7 separate regions of the Homo sapiens genome follow, and all the other regions are linked to region 1. The links are contacts of gene promoters, found by promoter capture Hi-C in blood cells and fetal thymus (Javierre and others, 2016). All regions are on one chromosome and are shown on one strand. Each heading gives the region's core, a stretch centred on a gene start or on the middle of the fragment in contact. The rest is flanking DNA. Distances are from core to core; before and after follow the strand shown. Region 1 holds the start of FMNL2 (formin like 2). Region 2 overlaps FMNL2 (formin like 2). Region 3 overlaps STAM2 (signal transducing adaptor molecule 2). Region 4 overlaps FMNL2 (formin like 2). Region 5 overlaps FMNL2 (formin like 2). Region 6 overlaps FMNL2 (formin like 2). Region 7 overlaps FMNL2 (formin like 2).

Region 1 (3,395 bases), core at 529-3,028:
CGATTTTTGATCTAGAACTCGAGTCCTCTGCCAAAGTTCTAAGTTTTCATGAAAACAAAAGAAGAAAAGAAAACCCGCAGGCAGGCACAATCGTTGGCTGCCCGGATCACGAGTTTCCCTTGCTGCCTAGTCTTGTGGAGTTTAGAGGTAACCAACTAGGAAAAGAGAAGTGTCCAAGTGTCAGGAGTAGGAATGAGCCCAATCTCGCCTGTGTGTGTCCCTCCCAACATCCCTTAGAAGAGGCTGGGACACTAAAACTGGTAGTCTGGGGGACCAACAGCAGTCCAGATCCTGGCTGGGGCAAGCCGCCACACCCTCTGCAGCTCACAGCACAAGCCTCGGCTGGGAGGGGCCCAGACACTGTCCCAGCAGGAAAGGGAGAAAGAGGGGAGTTTTCAGAGTCCTGGATTTGAGGAGCTGGAAAGCTGGGAGAAGCGGAATGCAGGAGGGAGCGGGGGACCTGGCTGGGCGTGCAAGAGGAGGGGAGGGGTCGCCCGTGCAGTCAGGACAGCTCGCAACACGTCCCCGCAAAACTCCACATTTTTGTGGTTTAAGATTTAAGTCTAGAGGGAACGCGCTGAGGTTCTCCCCGGCCTGGGTTTCAGATGCCCCTGCTCCTCGCCAAGGGCCGGGGCGCCGCACTGCTGTGGGTCTCCGCTTTCCCTTTCGGGGAAGCTCCCCTTGGCCAAGCCGCGACGTGAGCCCTCCAAGTTCGCCTCCGCTCACCGCCCGGCGCGGCGCCCGCGGCCGGCCACATGCGCCCCATCTGCCGGGGACTTCGCAGGTCCCGGGCTGGCCGCCCGAGGGATGGTCCGCAGGGGCTCAGGGTGTTTTGTTTTGTTTTGTTTTGTTTTGTTTTTTTTAAAAAAAAAGCCTAAGCGGCTCGCCACCTCCTCCTCCCAGCCCGCGCCACCTTCTCTTCACGCCCACGCCGCACCTCCCGGGCACACGCGCCGTGAGGTGCCTCTCCAGCCAGACAATGGGTTCGAGGCTGGTTGGGCAGCCGGCCCTGAGCCCCCATCCCCATCCCGGGACCCCGAGAGACTGAGCGCGGGGGACTGCCAGGGGGGTGAAGAGGAGTGCTGGGGGGCCACAAAGGGGAAAGCGGGAGCCTCCCCCTCGGGAATGGAGGCTCGCTCCCGGCACGGGGTGAAGGGGAGGGGCGGGGGTCAGCTGCGCCGCCCGGCCCGGGGCCCCGGGTCCCCGCGCCCGACCGCCGCCGCGCACTTACCAGCACGATGGCAAATCGCTCCTCCAGTTCACCTGGCTCTGGCATCGGCAGCTTCAAAGGCACGTTGTGCGCCCTGAAATCGGTCTGCTGCGAATCCATGCTCCCTGCGTTGCCCATGTCGGCGGCGCGCCGGGGCCGGGGGCTGCTCCGGGCCCCTAGCGTGCGCGTCGGAAATCAGAACAGCTCCCGGCGGTCGGCTGCCGCCCGCAGGCGCGACCTGCCCGGCTCCCCGCCCTCCGCCGCGCCCAGGCGGGTGTGCGGCGCGCACCGCTCCCTAGCAGCGCTCCAAGCCGAGCCGCCCCCCGGCCTCCCTCATGCTCTCCGCCGCCCCAGCGCGGCCCCGGCCTCTTTTCCTCGGGAGGGGTAGTTGGGGCGCTGGGCGCCTATGTGCATGGTGCTCCGCTGGCACACCGCCCCCTGCCAGAGATCGCGGCCCCCGGCGCGTGGTCCCTCCTACTCGGCCTTCTGCCGGGCCCGCGGCCGCCGCTGACACTTCCAGCCCTAGCCGGCCACGGCTGCGCCTGCCTGGCTAGCACCTGGAGCAGACAAATGCAGCTCCGCGCTCCCCTACACAATGCCACCTCTCGCCCGGCGCCCGGCCCCCGCCCCCGGCCCGGCTCCGCCCACTCGCCCCGCGGACTGCCGGGACGCGTAGTTTCTCTCCAAAGTGTCCGCGCGCAGAAACCACGCCTGCTCTAGAGCGCCAGGCCGGGTTGGGACCATTTGCAGCAAAGGCGATCCGTAGTCTCTGGAGATAGCATATTGTCACTTTTGACCCTCCTCACCCCAACAGTGGAATACTTACATCGTGTATATCATGTTGACACTTGGTAGGCGGGTCTGACCATGACGGAATCGAATCAATGAATGAAGGAATGCATGCCTTCTGATTAAAATTCAGAAAATCGTTGCTGTTTTTAAAAGATCTAGTTCAGTAAGGAACTTCGAAAGCACTGGCAAAGTTCTGTTTCATAAACGGGGGGGTGGGTCCATGGGTGCTTGTTTATCGTTCTTTCTTCCATATATATGTTCTTTGGTGTGATTGAAATGTTTTATAAACAGATGTATAATTTATGGGTATATATAGTCAGACCCTAGGAGCTAGGTAAGGATTCAATTCAATTTAAAAAAAAAACCTGTCAAACACCTATTATGTATGGGATATTGTGTTCCTTGGTGGGAGAAAAAAGAGATTTGCCCTGCGCTGGAATACTTGCCAATCTAGTGAAGGAAAAAATGTACACACCCATATTTCATGTGAGATGGATATAATGATAGAGTGTTCTGGGAGACTTTGGGATGATCTTTGGCTGCAGCTCTCTTATTCCTTCACAGCAGTCTTGAGCAAGGTGTCTTACAGAAAAGATTGGACCTGACTCTGTCCTCTGGGGTGTATTTCAGACTATAACTACCCGTTCTGAAACCTCGGAAATAGAAATAGCCTTATAAGAGACTTTAGCCAACTGCTCATGTGAATGTTAAGGGCATACATCTGGTTGACTTGTGGCTGAACTTCTGCAGTTAGTCCTTTCTTAGTTTAAAGCAGTGTTTCTTAATCCTAGATGTGTATCAGATTCGCTTGGGAAGCTTTTTGTTAAAACTACACACACCTTGGGCTCTGCGTATTATCAGAATCTCCCTAAGCTGAGAGCCGAAGCCTGGGCCGGTGTATTTTCAACAAGCTCCCCAGGTGATTTTGATATGCAGGTAAGGTTGTTATCCTTTTAGTAAATAGCAAGTGTTTCTGGACAAGGTAGTACACCAAGATTCAATCAAGGACATTTCATTCATCTTTATAAACTTCAAGATACTTTAAACATAGTAGACGCCCAAGAACTATTTGTGGAATTGACAAGTGACTTTTTCCAAAAGCATATGACACAAATACACACAAATACATCATGTATGTTCTATTAAACCACTTCTAGTCTTTAAAGAATGGAGACAGTATAAATAAATTCAACTTAAAATTCTGAATAACTGTAACCTGTATTTCTAAAGCAGTGTTGTATCAAAGTTAATAGCAAATGTGTTACTGATCTGAGAGAAAAGCAGGGCGGTTTAGATACACACACACTCCAAACTAATGAAAATGAGAGAGAAAGAAAGCAGTTCGGACCAGGTGAAACATTTCTGACCCACAAATGTATTTATTTCCTTGTAA
Region 2 (3,211 bases), core at 451-2,950, 180 kb before region 1:
CCTCAGAAAGAATTCAGATCTATTCTTTTGGCCTCCCCAAAGTTCTCATGTGCTAAACAACTGAGCTAAGTAGTCAATTAAAGTATTATACCTATTTATCATCCTGTCTATCCCCTGGCATCAGCACTCTAAGTCACACCTATTCCTAAATAAACAATGTAGTCCCTTATCTGGGTCAATATTCAAGCAGACAAATGCAAAGGTCTTGAACTTTTAATACTCAAGCTCCTAGCTCTCTGAAGGACTTGGCTTAGGGAGAAACAATTCCCCTGGTCATGGTTATTGTCTTGTGTTATAGGGTGAAACAAGTTTAACAGAGGCAAAGGTGAGTATGCTGTCCTGACTTAATGATAGAAAATCAACCACTGATTATGATAAATTAAACCAAGCATTTTCCCTTAAACTCAATCTAACATCTAGATTGGTATGCCTTAAGTATATCTGCCACCTATTTGAGTCTAATCCATCAGATTTTACAATAACCTGTCTTTAAAATATTTAATTTAATTTTTTTTTTTTTTTGAGATGGGGTTTCACTCCTGTTGCCCAGGCTGTAGTACAATAGCACGATCTCGGCTCACTGCAACCTCCGCTTCCTGGGTTCAAGCAATTGTCCTGCCTCAGCCTCCTAAGTAGCTGGGATTACAGGAGCTTGCCACCATGTCTGGCTAATTTTTGTATTCTTAATAGAGACGGGGTTTCACCATGTTGGCCAGGCTGGTCTTGAACTCCTGACCCCTGGATGATCCGCCCGCCTCGGCCTCCCAAAGTGCGGGGATTACAGGCGTGAGCCACCATGCCTGGCCTAAAATATTTAATATTTTAATCACCCCCCCTCAAAGCTGACAATTACTTTGAAGAGCTTTGGACTTTATAAAGAGTTTTCAATGGTACTGCCAAAGCTTCTTAGATATAGAAACATCTAATATGGGAAAATGTTTTCATATGGCCTGTCTTCATGGAATATCTACTTGAACTACAATGGAAAAAGTCTATTTGTAATTATTAGTTATTACAATTTGACAATGTTAAAAAAAAACTCCTGGGATAAGGCAAAGGAGAATTTCATGTGTATCTTTCTGAGGAAGTCTAATGTTATTTACTGGTAAATGGTCAGTCCATCATTGCTTATTTGCACTCCAGAGAAGGAGGTTTTCCTCTTAAACTGGTGTTGACCTTCATGTTAGCACCCCAGCTATAATTATGCATTAAGTAAGAACAATAAGATTATAAATTAAATGAGTTCTTTTCCTCTTGAGTCCTCACTAATCTCGAGATATAAAGGGAATAAGAAAAAGAATGCCTGAACTCCTACAAGGTGCCAAGTACTCCATTCAACACTTTGCATATGTAATCTCAGTTAATACTCATAATAAGCATGTGGGATAGACATAATCTTCTCCATTTAACATAGGGAAATAGACCCGGGAGAATTTGGTTAACTTGCTCAAGGTTGCACAGCTTTACAGGAACAAAGACAGGACCTAAACTTAGTCTGTTAGGCTCCCAAGGATAAATTCTGAATATGCCACCAAGCTTTTTTTGCAGGAGAGCAAAACGGCAATAGCTTATGACCTTCTATTAGTACTCTACTAGACATTCCCGTGGAAGCACTTGGCAAACATCGCCACAGGAATTACACACAGGCTCTGTCGTTTTCTGCAAAGAGAAAGGCAAGATGCCCCTTCCAGACTAACTCTTATTTTGATTAAAGAGTCTTTCGTTCAACAAATGTTTATGGAGCACTGCCCCTGTACAAGCCCTGTGCAACATGCTGGGTGGCACGGTGGGAATCCAAACAGACGCGATGCCCAGAGAGCACTGTGTTATGGTGGGGAGACACATATGAAACAAACAAAGCTTTTTAAACTCTGGTAAGGCTTGAGAAAGGTTATCAGAGGGTAGTCTTAGATTAGACAGTCTGGAAAAACCTCTCAGGAAAAAGTAACAAATGAGTCCCAATAAATGAGAAGGATTGGCCAGGCAGAGGGCGGACGAAAGCACACTGGGCACAGTGAACAAGGGAAGCCTCAAAGGCAGGAATTAGCTTTCCACATTTAAGGAGCTGAAAAAAGTCAGAACAGCCAGAGAGAAAGTAAAAGAGAAGGAATGAGAAAAAGATGAAGTTGGAAATGTGAGTCAAAGCCATATCATGCCTAGACATGCAGACCAGGGTCAATATATTTTATCTGAAGTGCCACGGGAAGCCATTGAAGGCTTTTAAGCAGATAAATAACATAATGACGTTGTTTTTCAAAGATAACAATAGGTGCTATGAGGAGAACAGATTAGAAACAGCAAAAGCAGAGAGCCAGTAGGAGGCCAGGACTAAGCAGTTCAAGTGAATGATGGCAGCTTAGATGGGGTCGATGGCACGTTGAATGAAGAAAGGTGGACAAATGTCAGAAATATTAAGTGAAACTGACTGGTTAGACTTAAGGGCTGGGGAGGATTTGTACCTTGTTTCCAGCTTGAGTCACTAAGTGAATGGGGTACAGTTAATAAGAGGGGCACGTAACAAAAGGCAAAATAAATCTGGAGGAGTTGGTGAAGAATAAGATTTATAAATGACCCTGTTTAGGCCTGAGATAGCTATGAGATAACCAAGAGAGCACTCAAGTGGGCAGGTAGATACATGATTCTGGAGGTCAAAAGAAAGGTCTGAATCTCTGAACAAGAAGAGACTTAAGAAGTCTTTTTGAGCATGATTAGTTATTGTCAGAAGTAGCAGTGCAACATCAATACATCCAAACTAAAGCTCCACTGGGTAATCATTCACCAAGCATCTAAAATAACCCCTTCCATGAGCCAAGCCTCTGAGCTACTCAGACATACATTGTACAGCTTAATAATTCCATAAGGACCATGAGGAAGCAGTTCTATTTAAAATCAGACACTCTACAGAGGTCTGGTTAAAGTTCAGGGATGTTGTGATTAGCTGGTAATAACTGCCTTTAAACTTCTTTCGAGTGAACTCATTCCTCTTGTGCTGTTCAGGGCAAGACTCTGGAGTCCAAGCTAAATGTTTGAGCAGGTAATTCATGAGTCCAAGTTACTGTGTGAGGAAAATATTGGCTCTATCTCCAGGTCCCTTTGCTGCCTTTATAAAAATGGACTGCTCATCTATTTGGCTGAAAATATCAATCAATTTCCGAGTCTTCCTAACACGGTGACAACTCTACCTCACCCACTCTTAGTGACATCTGTGACA
Region 3 (3,335 bases), core at 233-2,732, 160 kb after region 1:
TTCCTGTCTTTTCTTGGCATCAGAACCTACAAGCCCTGAAGGATATACTAGATTTGGTAGTGTTAGAACTCTTTAAACATTTTATCTAGATTCATTTTTTTGTTTTGTTTAATAAGATTTCTTTGATGTGTTCTGAGGGGAAAAAAGAAAATATCCTTAGGTCCCACCTCTTCTCCCCAGCTGGGCCTCAAGTGTTAGAGGGGTACAGGGATCTTGAGGTAGAGCCTGGTTGGAGTAGCCATTCTTGTAGAATTCCAAGGGGAAAGTGAAACATGGGGGACGGGGCCACAGTGGTTAGTGTTAACAGAGAAGATGTCATTTCCTTATTCATTGATTTCCAAGTCATGACTTGTCTGTTCTAAGCCTTAACTCCGGTTCTTGTTTGCATATCTTTTTTCCCTTTACTCAAGCCAGGCAATCTTTCTTGCCAGTTTTCTGCCTCTGTGCTATTTACCATTCATTGCTAAATGTTTGCTCTTTTCAACCTTGGTATTTCCTTTAAAGATACGCTTGTGTCCCACAAAGCTGAGCTCAAATTCTACCTCTACAAAACTCTGTGGACGCAGTGGTTTGAATTGTTAGCTTTTAAGAGAATACATTTCCAAGTGACATTTTAATGTGTGTATTGCTGTGTTTCTGACTTTTGCTGTGTTAGAAGAAGTTGACCAGGAAGTAGCTTGGGACTTTCTCCAGTGAAATGCAGTCATGCAGTCCTTTTCTCCAGTGAAATTTTATAAGAAATCCCAATATAAAAATAGATATTGATAGCATAAGAATAATATAAATTCATAACATACACACAAATTTATAACATTTACTTAACTAGGCCACTCTTTGTACAATAAGTTAAAATCTTTGTAAAAGTAAAAATTTTTTTAAAAAGTTTTTTGGTTTTGAATAAGAATAGTAGACTTAACAGCCAGTTTTTTTTCTAATATATTTTGTAGCTTTTTAAACTATGAAATATTTTCAGCATAAAATAGAAAATATGAACTCCCATTCCTGCCAGGCAATTATGTCAAGTGCTAATATTTTGATATACTTGATTCTTTTTTTTTAAGAAAGGAACATTCAAGATGCAGTGAAATACTTTAGTATTTTTAGCAGCTACCTGATCCCATTCTTCCTCCTTTCTCCGAGTTAAACACTCTATAAATAGATAGAAATTCTCTTTAATAGTATAATACTACACTTACAAATATACTATATATTGTTTGGATGTTTTTAAACTTCTTAAAAATGGTGTCTTTTTGTCATTCTGCAACTTTTGTCATCCAGCATTTCTTCTTTTTTGAGACGGAGTCTTGCTCTGTCGCCCAGGCTGGAGTGCAGTGGTGTAATCTCAGCTCACTGCAACCTCTGCTTCCCAGGTTCAAGCAATTCTTGTGCCTCAGCCTCCCGAGTAGCTGGGGTTACAGGTGCGCACCACCATGCTCGGCTAATTTTGCATTTTTTAGCAGAGATGGGATTTCGCCATGTTGGCCATGCCAGTTTCGAACTCCTGACCTTAGGTGATCTGCCTGCCTTGGCCTCCCAAAGTGCTGGGATTACAGGCGTGAGCCACCGTGCCTGGCCCATTCAGCATTTCTTCGTGAGAGTTATTCATGTTGATGTTTGTAGCTCTAGGTTATAAATTTTAATGGCTGCGTGATACTATACTACTATATGAATATGCATTATCTGTTGTCCTATTGACGAACATGACTTTGTTTTCAATTTCTTGCACCTACAGACAGCTCTGTATTGAAAGTTTTTATCTATGTTTTCTTGTGTTTATGGGTGCAAGATTCTTTTTTTTTTTTTTTTGAGACGGAGTCTTGCCCTGTCACCCAGGCTGGAGTGCAGTGGCGCGATCTCAGCTCGCTGCAACCTCCATCTCCCAGGTTCAAATGATTTTCCTGCCTCAGCCTCCCAAGTAGCTGGGATTACAGACGCCTGCTACCATGCCCAGGTAATTTTTTTTTGTATTTTTAGTAGAGACGGGGTTTCACATGTTGGCCAGGCTGGTCTCGAACTCCTGACCTCGTGATCCGCCCGTCTTGGCCTCCCAAAGTGCTGGGATTACAGATATGAGCCACTGTGCCCAGTGGAGTGCAAAATTCTTAAAGGTTGTCGTCTTGAAGGGGAATTCTTCAGTAGAAGTGTAGCTCTTGGCCTGGTGTGGTGGCTCATGCCTGTAATCCCAGCACTTTGGGAGGCTGAGGTGGACAAATCTTCTGAGGTCAGGAGTTTGAGACCAGCCTGGCCAACATGATGAAACGTGTCTCTACTGAAAATACAAAACTTAGCTGAGTGTGGTGGTGAATGCCTGTCATCTCAGCTACTCGGGAGGCTGAGGTAGAAGAATCACTTGAACCTGGGAGGCGGAGATTGTGCCACTGCACTCCAGCTGGGGCAACAGAGTGAGACTCCATCTCAAAAAAAAAAAAAAAGTGTAGCTCTTGCAAAGTTGCCCTTCCAAGTGTTTGTTGATTTCCCTCCTGTCAGCAGTGAAATTCCTGTTGTTCCACATCCTCACTAATGCTGAGCATTGTCAGATTTTCTAATTTATGCCTATCTGATGAATATGAAGTAAGACATTGTTTTCATTTCATTTTCTATTTCTACTTCATTGCCAGTGAAGATGAGCATTTTTTCATATGTTTCTTCATCATTCTGTTTTCTTTTTCTATAAATTGCCTGCTCATTACTTTTATTATTCTGTTGGGTTACTTTTTAAAAATTGATGGCAGGGTGCAGTGACTCACACCTGCAATCCAAACACTTGGTGGATTGCTTGATCTCAGGAGTTCGAGATCAGTCAGGGCAACATGATGAAACCCCATCTCTACAAAAAATACAAAAATTAGCTGAGCATGGTGGCGCGCACCTGTAGTCCGAGCTACTCGGGAGATGGAGGTGGGAGGATGGCTTGAGCTAGGGAGGTTGAGGCTGCAGTGAGCCATGATTGCATCACTGCACTCCAGCCTGGGTGACAGAGCCAGATCCTGTCTCCCGAACAAAACAAAAAAACGAAACCAAAAACCAACACCAAAAAATAAAACAAAATTGATTTTTAGAGTTCCAGATACATTTCTTACTAATCTTTAGTTGGGTATGTATGTTACAAATCTGTATTCTAGTTCTGTTTGTTTCTGCTGTCTTTTATTGTAAAGAAAATGTGGGTTTTCACTTAGTGATATTTGTCATTCTCCCTTAATTTTATTTTTCTTAAGAAAGGCTTCAGGGCTGAGTGTGGTGGCTCACACCTGTAGTAAAGAAAAGAAACCCTTCTCCACCCTGAGGTTATACAGATATTTTCATATTTTCTTCTGCAAGTTTTACTAAACTTTTGA
Region 4 (3,378 bases), core at 825-3,324, 200 kb before region 1:
CCATGCTGGTGCGCTGCACCCACTAACTCGTCATCTAGCATTAGGTATATCTCCCAATGCTATCCCTCCCCCCTCCCCCCACCCCACCACAGTCCCCAGAGTGTGATATTCCCCTTCCTGTGTCCATGTGATCTCATTGTTCAATTCCCACCTATGAGATAATCTTATTATTTAAAATCTATATTTGTTATTGTTTATCCTTGAAAATAGGGGGAATGGTTTGTAGTAGGACACCTATTAATATTTTCCCTTTATTTAAAAATAATCAGGGTGAATTTTGTAGTATATGAACTCTATCTCAATCAAGCTGCTTTTAAAAAAAGAACAGCACACTTTTTCTAATTATTCCTTCAAATGTTCTATCTCGAGAGCAATTTCTAAGTAATCACAACTATTCAACATCTCTAGTGCCATCACTGTGTCTGTGTATAAACTACTTTTTTTAAATCACCATCACCTCACCAAGGAATCAGAGGGGATCCTATTGCCATGGGGATTTAGCAGTAGTCCAGCTGAGGGCTAAAATAATCACAAGAAGCTCAGAAAAATGAACTGATGAGCTATCTAGAAGCCAGTCATTATTTCCAACCTCATGTATGACAACAGCTGATGCCAAACACATATCAGAATATAAATAAATATTATCCTTTTAAATAATATAATTCCAATTATTCAAAAAAAATTTTTTTGAGAGAGTCTCACTCTGTCACCCAGGCTGGAATGCAGTGGCACAATCACAGCTCACTGCAGCCTCGACTTCCCAGGTTCAAGCAATCCTCCTAATTCCACCTCCTAAGAAGTTGGATCTATAGGTGCAGGCAACCACGCCCAGCTAATTTTCTAAAGACAAGGTCTCACCATGTTGCCCAGGCTGGTATTGAACTCCTGGGCTCAATTTTATTTTTACAATAATAAAATTTGGTGGAGTAGCACATGTAACGCAGTAGCATTCACTCATTTAGTGAGCCCTATCTTTGACAGTCAGTAAAGGCAGCTTTTTTTCATTTCCTATTTGGGACTGTGGCGACTCAGAAGGCTTACTCAAATACATACATTTGCTGGTCCTGTTGACTGGACTATATTTCCTTAGGACTTGAAATTATGAACAAGGTCTACATGTAATAAACTCACACTTTTTCAAATATGCTTATTTAGCATTTGTCGTTGTATTCCACATATTCTTCATTTGTTTGAGCAGCTTACTGATGTATTAAGAAAGAGAAAATAAGGAAGCCTCATGCTTTAAAACACAGTTGGTCCACATTGCATCCACTTCTAAGAAAACTCAGGTGGGGCCATTTGCCTTGGCATAGTCTGCCCATCTCCTCTTTCTACCTCCACTGCTGCCATGGAACCCGTGAAAAAGCTTGTGGCAAATGGGGAGAAGGAAGACAGAAAAAGAAGGTTCTGAAGTTCACTCTTGATTCCACCCACCCTCTAGAAGATGGAGTCATGGAAGCTGCCAATTTTGAGTGCTTTTTGCAAGAGGATCAAAATGAACAGAAAAGCTGGGAATCTCAATGGAGGGGTGGTAACTATCAAAAGGAGCAAGATCACCAAGACTTTGGAGGTGCCTTTTCAATTCATTTTGATAGCTCATCATGACTAAAGAATAACATTTCTACACAGTGCAACTCAAGTTGGTAACTTAATAAAGGTACTTATATCATTGATGTCAAGCAAGCAGGCAACGAGGTCCTGAAAATAACATGGGATATGAAGCAGTTTTAAAAGTGTGGGTAATGGAAGACTGCCAACCAAAGCAGTTTCGACTTTTAATACAATATCTAAAATTCTAATATTTAGAGGGAAAAATATATTAATTCAAATAAATAGGATGCCCATAATCCATCTGAAGTCCTTCAAAATAAATGTGTTTGGCAAGGTGCTGAAATTTTCTTATGTATTTTCCCAATGTTTCTGTTGTTCAAATTGGCCACATTGAAACAGAGAGAAAAGGTTTGGCAAATCAGGTGCTGAATTTATAACTCAAACAGTGGTTCCTTTAGATATTAGACAGGCAACCCCAAGTTTTACAAAAACAGTTGGGGCTTTGTATTCTTCCTCCATAACACTTTTATTTGGGTCCCTGGATGTAGGCCGAGTTTTCTTTTCTCTTCTCCCTCTCCCTCTCTCCTTCTTTCATGGTTCCCATGAAAGTTTTATATGAGTTTTATTTAAGAACTCATAAAAATACAGCTGGGTGCAGTGGCTCACGCCTGTAATCCCAGCACTTTGGGAGGCTGAGGCAGGTGGATCACCTGTGGTCAGGAGATTGAGACCAGCCTGGCCAACGTGGTGAAACCCCACCTCTACTAAAAATACAAAAATTAGTCAGGCGTGGTGGCGCGTGCCTGTAATCCCAGCTACTTGGGAGGCTGAGACAGGAGGATTACTTGAACCCAGGAGGTGGGGCTTGCAGTGAACTGAGATCATGCCACTGCAGTCCAGTCTGGGCGACAGAGTCTCCATCTCAAAAAACAAACAAACAAAAAAAAAAAACCTCATATAAAATATTCCAGATAATGAATTTTAATCCTCCTCTTCCTCTTCCCTGAACTGGTTAATTTAGAAGTAATGTAATTCGTAACTCCTTGCCTTTAGCAGCTACGTGCAATCCATCATGTAGATGATTCTTCAAATATCTTTTAGTGAGATATTTCAAATACAATTAACTTTTCATGTGGGGCAGTACTTTTTGTTTCTCTGATTTTTAACTTATCTTTCAGTGATACTTCACAGTTTATCACATTCTTTAGACCTCTTAGCTCACTCAAGCTTCTATATCTGGCAAGTAGATATTATCTCCATTTTGCAGATGAGGGAACTGAGGCTTAAAGATTAAATGACTTACCTGAAATCATATACTGTGTGTGTGTGTGTGTATGTGTAAGGTCTCTGATGTATTTTCCCAATGTTTCTGTTGTTCAAACACAGTTTTCTGACTTTTTCTGATGCTTGTTCATTTTACTACACTATAATAAGCATGCTCATCTTGAATTTAATAGTATAAACATTTTTTAAAGGGTGGAAACATGTTCTATTCTTCATTGAGTCCCAGTATGTAAAAGAATACTTGGCACACAGTTGATCTTCAACAATGTTCAAAGAATTAAACTTTTTAAAAATGTCACATACAAGTCACTTCTTTCATAAATTAAGGGTAACTTTTAAATGTAAAAGTAAACAAAGAGACTATAAGCACACTCTACAGGATGTACCCCAGCAGGTTCAGTAGACATAAGTTAGTCAAGCTCACGTCAGAGCCAAAGAACATTTGCTGATGAGCCGCAGCTGTGTCTCTCGTAGATCTAAAGCCGTCTAATGCCTTTCATAACCATACGTTTCCTCATTAACCCAATCCCCTAAGGCGTATGT
Region 5 (3,154 bases), core at 644-3,143, 240 kb before region 1:
CCTATCATCAGGTGACTCAGTACAATACAGATGAAAAATGTTTACTGGTACGCTAAAAACAAAGGGAATGGGAATATGCTGAAAAACAAACTATTGATTAAGTATTTGCTCTGGTTTTAGAGACAGTGAGAGAACATTTGCAAAAAAAAAAGTTCAAAATCAACTGAAACTCATGTTCTACATTTCAAATCTGCTCATGTAGGGACAGATCCATAAATCTCCCACGAAAATACAAGTTTCTGTCCTTTCTTCTTCCTACGCAGGACAACTGGAAGGAGCTGGATTACAGCTTTACTAGCTTTACTAACACAAGAATATTTTCTTTGACTCAAGAAAATAAAACTCAATCTGAAATATTTTTGGAAGGAGAACATGGAGATACACTCTAAGTTTTCAAATTCAATGTCAAGAAAGAAACAGCATTGTTTCTTCAATCATAAGACCACTTAAGTATTTCATTTTTTTTCTGGAATAACAGCTTTCACCAACTTCTAAACAAAAACTGTTCTGATACTCCACAATGTCAATTGTCTTTTAAAAAATAATGTCTTCCCTGTAGTAGAAGGCAGAGACACAGAAGCATGGCTACTTAGGACTCTAGTAAACGAAGGAAGGAATCGCACAGTCGCAAAAGGTTTAATCAGGGGAAGTTTGAAAGAATAATATTCAGTAAAGAGGACTTGATAGTTCGTGTTGCATTTTCCAAATCAGAAATGGCTAATTTATAAACAGATTTTTGAATTAACAGTTTTCAGATATTTTGTCTACAGAGAGGTATTGGATGAAAAGGAATTGCACATTTGAAGTACAGAATACTTCACCAAAATGGAAAGCACATTAAAATAACTACAATTGATGAAGACTGGCTTTTACGACTAACGTGTGATGTGAATTATATCTGCTGCTAGCCTTTACAAGGTGGTGAATATGAAAGGAAATCTGCATATACAATTTTATTTTTCTATTTCTTTCTTTCTTTATTTTTTGAGACAGAGTCTTGCCCTGTCACCCAGGCCGGAGTGCAGCGGTGCGATCTCGGCTCACTGCAACCTCCACTTCCTGGGTTCAAGCCATTCTCCTGCCTCAGCCTCCTGAGTAGCTGGGATTACAGGCATGTGCCACCATGTCTGGCTAATTTTTTGTATTTTTAGTAGAGATGGGGTTTCACCATGTTAGCCAGGCTGGTCGCAACTCCTGACCTCAGGTGATCTGCCTGCCTCGGCCTCCCAAAGTGCTGAGATTACAGGCATGAGCCACTGCGGCTGGCCACTACAATTATTTTTCTATTTTCGTTCAGTAATTAAAGCTACATATGTAAAGTTATCAAGCGAAGTGTAGACGAAGGATGGTGGTTTTAGCTAGCTTCCAGCAATAACTGATATACGTAAATCTTTATCAAGACTCTCCTGGCCCCCGAGTCCTGGCAACCTGATCCTCTCCAAATTTAGCAGCAAGGATGCTGGAAACCAGGCCTCAAAAGAACAAAAGCTTGAGGAGAACAGTGAAGGGCTAGAATTGTCACCAGTTGCTCAACTCTGGCCCATCTAAGAATGTAACTTGGCTAAAAGGAAAAATTCTTACACAGCCAAAGAGTTTATAGCCAATCTTATTTCAGAGATTAACACTTGAAAGTTTCCAAAGTCAAACTTGGTTAAGTGTTGACTAGCCCTCTGTTTTCTCTAGATAGATTTAGACTTGCGTACTACAAAAGCAGCTTACCTGGGATTCTTGTTGTTCAGGCTTAGTGCAATCTCATTGACAGCGTGTGGATGAGACATGACCATGTTGAAACCATACTAAAATTAACATGGAAAAAAAAAGAAACACAAAGCATTGGGAGACAAGTTAGGGAACTGTCAGTATTGATTTAAAACCAAAAACCCGAAGTATCTACCTAATGAAACTTACACCATTATAAATGCACTTATGTCTCTAGTATATCACTGTCAGAGCATATTTCTCTATTAAAAATTTCAAGAATGCCAGATGCAATGATTTGTGCCTCCAGTCCCAGCTACTCAGGAGGCTGAGGCGGGGGGTACAGCTTGAGTCCAGGACAACAAGACCCACATCTCTCAAAAAAAAAAAAAAAAAAATCGGCAATGATGCTATTATCAAAAGATTATCTTCCCATTCTTTACAAATGAACTACATGTTTCTCTTTATTAAAATGATAAAAAGGCTCTAGCCCAGTGATTATTAACCTTGGCCGCTCCTTAAACTCCCCTGGAAGACTAAACAAAACATTTACTCCGAATCTCAATTACAGGGACCTGGCACCTGAGTTTTTAAGCTTCCAGGGTGACTCCACAGTATACAATAGATATAACATACAAAATGTGTGTTAACAGACTTTATGCTACTGGTGAGGTCTCCAGTTATATACAGATTTTTGACTACACCAGGGATCAGTACCCCTCACACCCCACAAAATTCAAGGGTCAACTATATTCTTTCTCCTCAAAACTCACTCTCAGCTCATCAGAGAAAACATCCAGAAGTTCCTATACCACATCAATCTATCCACACAGATTTGTGGCTTACCTCCTCACCTCCTATTAAAGAGGAACTCTTCTGTGCTCCAAACTAAGGCCAACCCCTCCCATGAGTCCTTCCTCCATCCCATTCCCTCGCATCTGCTCACGAACATCATATGTTCCAGAAATTCCTCCCTTCCCCCTTATTTTTCCCTCTCCATAGACTCATTGCCATTAGCATAAAAAATGCAAATTATCTTAAGTAACAATAAAAACCTCTCTTGATACCACAACCTGTGTTCAGCCACTGCCTCTCATTTCTCTGCTATCCTTTACAGCAAAACTCCTCCAGACACTCAGTATAAATCCTCACTTCCTGCTCATTCTTGAAACCACTCCAATCAAGCATTTCACCCCCACCATCCCAATGAACTGTTCTTGCCAAGATCACCAAAGACCTGCACTTTGCTGAAGCCAATGGCCAATCCTCACTCCACATCTTACTTGACTTAGCAGCATCTAACAGAGCTGAATACTCCCTTCTCCTTGAAATATGTCCTTCACTTGGCTCCTACTTGGCTATTTTTCAGGCTCTCTAGCCAGCTTTTCTTCGTCTCTCTGACATTTAAACAGAGAGCCCTAGAGTTCATATTTTGGACTTCTTTACTTCTCAGTCT
Region 6 (3,188 bases), core at 393-2,892, 170 kb before region 1:
ATTTTTTTCCCCACTGCAATACCTTCCCCAAATTTGTCTGACCCTTAGTAAAGAACTCCCATCAGCTCACTCTTTTCTGCAGTTCCCTCCTTACCCAACTTAGAATCCATGGCCCAGGTAAATAATGTTCTTGATCTTGCACCAGTGTTTCTTGCTCCTCTAGCTGTCTTTTTAGCACAGCCCCCAACACACCCCCAAACCTAGACAAACTCACTGACCAGTGATATAGATTTTTTGCTTGACCAAACTTTAGTCAGGCTCCTTTACATTCTCCTACATCCGTGTATACACTTCCTTATAAAATCTGGTTTTGGCAAGAACTCTAAGTCAGTTTATCCAGAATTCCCCACCCTCTATGTCTAATCACCCCCACTAATTAATTGGGTTCCTCATCCTCTCCCATTCCCCAGATGGTATCTGATCACCCTGGCCTGCCTTCAACAAGAATCCTATAATAGGTCAGGATCACTTTAACCAGAATTCTCTCCCTTTCTTCCCCTACTTCACTCCTATAGCCCTGATGTTTCCTCCTAGTAATTTTCCATCCACTGACCTCCACTCCACTCCTTGGCTATAAATTCCTATTTGTCCATGCTCTGTTCAGAATTGAGCTCAATCTCTCTCCCTCACTGCAAAAATCCCACTGCAGTGGTCCCTACGCCTATCGTGATGGTACTAAATAAAGTCTGCCTTACCATCTTGAACGAGTGTCATGAGTAATTCCTCTTTAATACCATTTTGTCCCTCCTGATACAGAAGCACCTGAGACTGCAGAGAGTGCCATGCAACAGGAAGATCAGTCAACCACAGAGCACCAACTATCACTTGCCCGGAAAACATCTACCCTCAACACTGCCCAGGGAACATCTACCTTCTTCTGGTCAACCATTTACAATCTCTTCCAACCTCCAACCTCCATACCCTCTCCTTACCCCCTTCTCTCAATATAGCCTCACCCCTTGTATGTCATGAAGGAAATAAACCCCCTTATACAAGAACTCGCTCCCTTTCCTGCTACTAAACTCGCAAACCCACCATACTTCTGTACCTTCCTCTCCCACTCTCCGCACAATGAAATAAAGATGGTACTTATTTTGTTGTTTTTGGGTTTTCTGGGTTTTTTTGAGTCGGAGTCTTGCTCTGTTGCCCAGGCTGGAGTGCAGTGGCACGACCTTGACTCACTGCAATCTCTGCCTCCCAGGTTCAAGCAATTCTCGTGCCTCAGCCTCCTGAGTAGCTGACACTACAGATGCCTGCCATCACACCTGGCTAATTTTTGTATTTTTAGTAGAGACATGGTTTCACCATTTTGGCCAGGCTGGTCTCAGACTCCTGACCTCAGGTGATCCACCCACCTTGGCCTCCCAAAGTGCTGGAATTACAGGCATGAGCCACCACGCCCGGCCCAAAGGCGGTATTTTTTCCTATCTTGGAGACCATCCCTCTTATATTCTTCTCTCATAGACCATTGTGAAAAATAAATGTTATAACCTGTGTTTCACAAAGCACAGTTTCTGACACATTAAAAAGAATTCAATGAATAGACGCTGCTTTCACCATTAAGGTTTCCAACAGGGTTGTACCTAGTGGGTGCTCCAAGGATGAAAACAATCAATCCTATATTTGAATGGGAAGAGAGAATCAGATAAGCACATCCTCAAGCAAAACTCTGTTAGCGCCACCTCGCCCAAAATAACCCAAGTGTTTTCCACAAGAAGAACTTACCCTATAGACTCGCACGAAGAACAAGGGGTTAAAAAGTTAAGGCATCAACATTTTCTTGTTTTTGATTTAAAAACTACTCAAAGCTACTGTTAAATGACAGGGCATAACAGTGAAAACTAGGTTCCTTTCCATACTTGCTACCATGCAGTTACAGTTTCTCCTTCCGGAAACTATAACTTATGAAATTTAAATGAACTAGAACGTTTGGATCACATTCAAAGTGTACACTGGACCTTCTGCCAATATGTAAATCGCAGGGGGTTCACAGGACCCCATTAGAGAAACAGTACAGTATGGACTTTCACAAGATTCATTCTCATCATCGTCTTCCTTCTAAATGGAGTCTTGGCAATTAATTACTCAAAATTAAAAAAAAAAAAGTCACGCAAATTTACACAGATGGAAACAGAATATCTTTACTTGTTAAAGCCAGGAACACAATCAGGCTCTTTGCTCCCTTCTGTGTAAATATTCCTGAGACCCTCTCACCCAAAACCGTGGACATCCTGGGGGATTTTGCTTTCCAGCATCAGGGCAAGCTGGCTAGTTTGGTTTGGAGCCTCTGTACTGGCTGCTCATTGAAGATAAACTTAACAATTGAATAGAGCCTTCATTAGCATTTCCATCAACCCATTGGGAGCTCTCAATATCAGCTCATAAAGAATTATGCTTTTAAGTTACATGTCTTTTAGAAGAGTCAGATACATTTTCTGAGTTCCCTTTTGGGAAGGTCATCCTTCAAGTTCAACTGAATGCAGGTAAAAGCTAACCCTATCCCCGAGTCACTTTAGAAAAGCAATTACATTCTTACATCAACAATATAGCAAGGATAAAAATATCAAAATAAAGAGATAATCCTTAAATACATTTAGCTTTAAGGAAAGCATATTAGGTTGAGGACTCTATTTGGGAATTACTGGCCCACAGGGTTTGATTTCAGGGCATAAGGGCACAAAGAATTGTTTTTACTGCCTGTAAAACTTTTAAAACCGTCATGAAAAATGTGAAAGATTTCATAGAAGAATCAAAATTTTCATCTTCTCATGAAAATTTGGAAGCCCTCACAGCACCGGCCTGCCTTGCCAGTATGGGCTAAAGCCGAGTGGCGCCTGCCTCGGTCAGGGACTTAACTCACAGGCTTGCCAAGGTTCCACCACTCCCTTTTGTGTCAAATCCAGGCAGATTTTACAAATTTAAGAGACCTAACTGACTCCTGTAGACATCCGAGTTTTGATGCCTGGTTTTTTTGTTTGTTTTACCCAGGCTGGAGTGAAGTGGTGTGATCTCGGCTCACTGCAACCTCTGCCTCGCTGGGGTTCAAGTGATTCCCCTGCCTCAGTCTCCCGAGTAGCTAGAATTACAGGCACCCGCCACCACACCCAGCTAATTTTTGTATTTTTAGTAGAAACAGGGTTTCGCCATGTTGGCCAGGCTGGTCTAGAACTCCTGACCTCAGGTGATCC
Region 7 (3,237 bases), core at 31-2,530, 220 kb before region 1:
ATACCACCTGGTAGGCCTCACAAAGTGGCTTTGTTATGAGACCTAGACAAAACTAACAGGGCTGGCTACTGGTGGAGGCTGAAGTTTCATTTCAAAACAGCCACATACACAATCTCACAGCACCTACTAGATACTTATTTTTTATTTATTTTAAGTACTTTCTGTGGTGCTAGGTCTCAGGAGACACTGATCACGTTTAAATACTAGTAATTAGAAGCTTAGAAATAGTAAAAAGAATTTTTTCTTTTTTGTAACTGGCTGGAGACTTAAAGTCTGGAACTCAATATCAAAATCTGATGATTAGAAAATCTTTAAATTCAAGCCCCTTAGCCTTGCTTAGGCTTTTCCATTGGTGGCCTATGGGCTGTGATTGTACAATTTAAACTGGCCCTCGGTGGTGGGTGTCTTTTTAATATGAAAAATAATCACGGCGGGGGGAGGGGGGCAGATTTTTCAGGGCAGTCTCAGTTGTACATATTCTCAGTGGCCCATAAGAACACACTAATTTAGGAGCTAAGAGAAACAGCCATTGTCGTTTCTTCTGGTTGATTTTCCAGATGCAGCCTCTGTAGAGTGCAGACCATTCAGAATGCACTCAGTGCCTGCCCTTGTGTCAACTACTGGCAGGCACCTCCATCTCACTTGGAAAGTTCAGCCACCAATTGGACAAGAGGCAAGTGACCTACAGAAGAAAAACTAAATTTTTTTAAGGTAGGAAATAGCCAAGTACAGCCAGAGTTACAATTCGCTTAACATGCTAATATGCATACGTTTTAATGCAGGGATAAAGAATACTCATTGGCTCCTCTTACTTCACTTCAGAGTCCTTATCCATGCCCCCATCACCACTTCCTGACTTTGAGTGAAAGGGCCTCAAAGACAATTTTCTGAGTAAAAGGTAACAGCCTGCTGCCTACCTCCTAAAAGGTCAGCTAAAGTGTGACATGTTTTACCCCTGATTTAATTTCATGCAGTTAACATCTTTTTCAAAGCTACAAGATCCTCCCTGGGATTTGATCTAGTCCTGACACCCCCAGCTGCTTTAGGAAAGAATGAGATCAGTCTTTCAGGGCTGGCTACCTTCCCCACTTTATCAAATGGTATCAGGTTAGCTTAGCAAAGTCATTTCAGCAATAAGGGTATGGATGACATGAAAAAAGAGCCCCCATTTTTCTAACTATTATCTCAGTCCCTACCCCTTCTTGACTTGGAACTTTCTGTATTGGAGAGAACTGGCCATTTTCAATTGGAGTTGAAAGTGAACTTCTACAGAAATATAAGAGTAAGGAAAGAAAACAGGTAAAGATAAAAACGGGCAACTTTCAAAGCAGTAACTGGAATCTAAAGGCATTCAAAGAATATGGATGCCTCATTTTGCAGATTTATGTAAATGATCATGCAAGGACTATATCATATATTCAGGGTTCCCATAGCAAATTAGTTCCATTTCACCTCTGTGCATGCTACACACACTTTTTAATATGTTGCCAATAGGCAAACAGTTTCAAATTGGGTGATTATAGGTTTTGGAAAGTTGAATTATTTCTGACTCTGACAGAACGCATAACTTCCTGAGTGCCTCACGGATTCAATGTAATTACCATATGCTGTACATCTGAATTTAGGCAAATTCTAAATCAGATGCTTAGGAGCTGGAAAAGACAGGGACAATGACAAATAGCTCTGGAAGAAATTGGGTGCAAGGAAGAGATGTAAGTGCCAATGCCAACAGTCACTGTTTTATTGTAGGCTGGTCACAGCTTAATATCAAATCTTTGTTCTGTCTCCCCAAATCTTAGAACCTTATTTCTCCTCATATAGGTCTTAAGAGATGTTCCTGGCTTTCAATTTCTAAGATCAAGCCAAGTAGCCCAAAGTTGCACAACAGAAAGGAAAAAGCAGTTAATTCCTTTTGCCAGCCTCCTCTAGAGAGAGGTCCTACAGACATATGTTGGGAACTGAAGTTGATGAAAAATCATGAAAAGCAAGAGAAAGAAGCACTGTGTGGATTCAACACTGGTCATCAGATCTACTCTGTTAGGCAGTGTTGCAAACTGATTCTCAAAGTATAGCCCATATACCACTAGGGGTCCCTGAAACCCTCTCAGGGCGCCTGTGAAGGTAAAACTGTTTTCACAAAAATATTAGGACATTAGTTGTTTTCAATCTGTTGACACTGACACTTACAATGCCAAAGAAATACTGTATAAAACTGCTGCAACCAAAGAAGACACTTATTTATTGTATTTGTCACTCCGTGCACTCAGGAGGGGGAAAAGGCCAGCTTCACTTAAGAACGCCCTTAGATAAGCAATAAAAAATATTGATTTTATTAAAGCTTACTCATTTAGTACACATCTTTTTCATTTTCAGTGTGACAAAACAGGAAGCTCACATAAAGTACTTCTGCTACCTGCTCAAGTAGCACAGTTGTCTCAAGGAAAAGCACCTGTGAAATTGTTTGAGTTGCGAGCTGAACTAGCCATTTTTTCATGGAATGTCAATTTACTTGTAAAAATAACTGACAAACTATGGTGATTCAGTTTGGGGTATGTGGCAGACATTTACTCAAATATGAAGTGAGCCCATCCTTTCAAGGACAACACAGTATTTGTTGCTGATGACCAACTTTGAGCTTTCAAACAAAAACTAGAATTCTGGAAAACCTGTATTCACCACCGTCAGTTTGACAGCTTCTCAATACTTAACATATATTCTAATCAGACTGGTGGTTATTAACAAATGTGATTTTTAAAAACATTGTAAAGGGATATGCTTCAACAGTGGAGAAACATGATTTTACTGAGTTATTCTGATCTTCCAAATGACCAACATGATGTTAACAAATCATGTCACAAGTTCATGTATGGATAAAAAGACCCAATCAAAGTGTAAGACAGCACAAAGGATTTTTTGAGACAGGGTCTTACTTTGTTGCTGAGGCTGAAGTGCAGTGGCACAATCATGGCTTACTGTAGCCTCAACCTCCTGGGCTCAAGTGATCCTCCTACCTCAGCCTCCTGAGTAGCTGGGACTCCAGGATCATGCCACCACACCTGGTTAATTTTTGTATTTTTTATAGAGACAGGGGTTCACCATGTTACCCAGGCTGGTCTCAAACTCCCAGGCTCAAGCCATCCTGCCCACCTTGGCCTTCCAAAGTTGCTGGGACTGCAGGCCACAGCACCTGGCCAATGGATTTTAATATAACAGAGCACAAAAAGTTCACTGATATGA

The links. Contacts are between HindIII fragments. The CHiCAGO score rates a contact against its expected background, and 5 or more counts as called.
Region 2: a contact is called between a fragment that was not itself captured here and the fragment with the promoter of FMNL2 in region 1, in 3 of 17 cell types (M0 macrophages, M2 macrophages and M1 macrophages). The highest score is 7.5, in M0 macrophages.
Region 3: a fragment that was not itself captured here is called in contact with the fragment with the promoter of FMNL2 in region 1 in 3 of 17 cell types (M1 macrophages, M2 macrophages and M0 macrophages); the score reaches 6.9 in M1 macrophages.
Region 4: a fragment that was not itself captured here is called in contact with the fragment with the promoter of FMNL2 in region 1 in 5 of 17 cell types (monocytes, M2 macrophages, M1 macrophages and 2 more); the score reaches 12.3 in monocytes.
Region 5: a fragment that was not itself captured here is called in contact with the fragment with the promoter of FMNL2 in region 1 in 5 of 17 cell types (M0 macrophages, M2 macrophages, M1 macrophages and 2 more); the score reaches 13.2 in M0 macrophages.
Region 6: a fragment that was not itself captured here is called in contact with the fragment with the promoter of FMNL2 in region 1 in 5 of 17 cell types (M1 macrophages, M0 macrophages, M2 macrophages and 2 more); the score reaches 12.2 in M1 macrophages.
Region 7: a fragment that was not itself captured here is called in contact with the fragment with the promoter of FMNL2 in region 1 in 5 of 17 cell types (M2 macrophages, M0 macrophages, M1 macrophages and 2 more); the score reaches 15.8 in M2 macrophages.

Annotation. Positions count from the first base shown.
Region 1 is chr2:152,333,557-152,336,951 of GRCh38, reverse strand. It overlaps FMNL2 (formin like 2), which reads right to left and starts at 1,778. Exons shown (of 26, transcript NM_052905.4): 1 at 1,232-1,778. The coding sequence starts at 1,348. RefSeq lists silencers at 719-818, 1,329-1,978. The HindIII fragment of the contact is 3,556 bases long and covers 1-2,820 here.
Region 2 is chr2:152,517,907-152,521,117 of GRCh38, reverse strand. The region is part of intron 1 of FMNL2 (formin like 2); the gene reads right to left. Among named protein-coding and RNA genes, the nearest start is that of FMNL2, 180 kb to the right of the region's middle. The HindIII fragment of the contact is 324 bases long and covers 1,539-1,862 here.
Region 3 is chr2:152,168,954-152,172,288 of GRCh38, reverse strand. All of the region lies in intron 1 of STAM2 (signal transducing adaptor molecule 2), which reads left to right. Among named protein-coding and RNA genes, the nearest start is that of STAM2, 5.1 kb to the left of the region's middle. The HindIII fragment of the contact is 4,391 bases long and covers 1-3,335 here.
Region 4 is chr2:152,537,399-152,540,776 of GRCh38, reverse strand. All of the region lies in intron 2 of FMNL2 (formin like 2), which reads right to left. Among named protein-coding and RNA genes, the nearest start is that of PRPF40A, 180 kb to the left of the region's middle. The HindIII fragment of the contact is 1,412 bases long and covers 1,369-2,780 here.
Region 5 is chr2:152,577,530-152,580,683 of GRCh38, reverse strand. FMNL2 (formin like 2) reads right to left here. Exons shown (of 26, transcript NM_052905.4): 8 at 1,720-1,796. Among named protein-coding and RNA genes, the nearest start is that of PRPF40A, 140 kb to the left of the region's middle. The HindIII fragment of the contact is 805 bases long and covers 1,491-2,295 here.
Region 6 is chr2:152,500,623-152,503,810 of GRCh38, reverse strand. The region is part of intron 1 of FMNL2 (formin like 2); the gene reads right to left. Among named protein-coding and RNA genes, the nearest start is that of FMNL2, 170 kb to the right of the region's middle. RefSeq lists an enhancer at 2,044-2,619. The HindIII fragment of the contact is 5,004 bases long and covers 1-3,188 here.
Region 7 is chr2:152,554,085-152,557,321 of GRCh38, reverse strand. All of the region lies in intron 4 of FMNL2 (formin like 2), which reads right to left. Among named protein-coding and RNA genes, the nearest start is that of PRPF40A, 160 kb to the left of the region's middle. The HindIII fragment of the contact is 2,121 bases long and covers 220-2,340 here.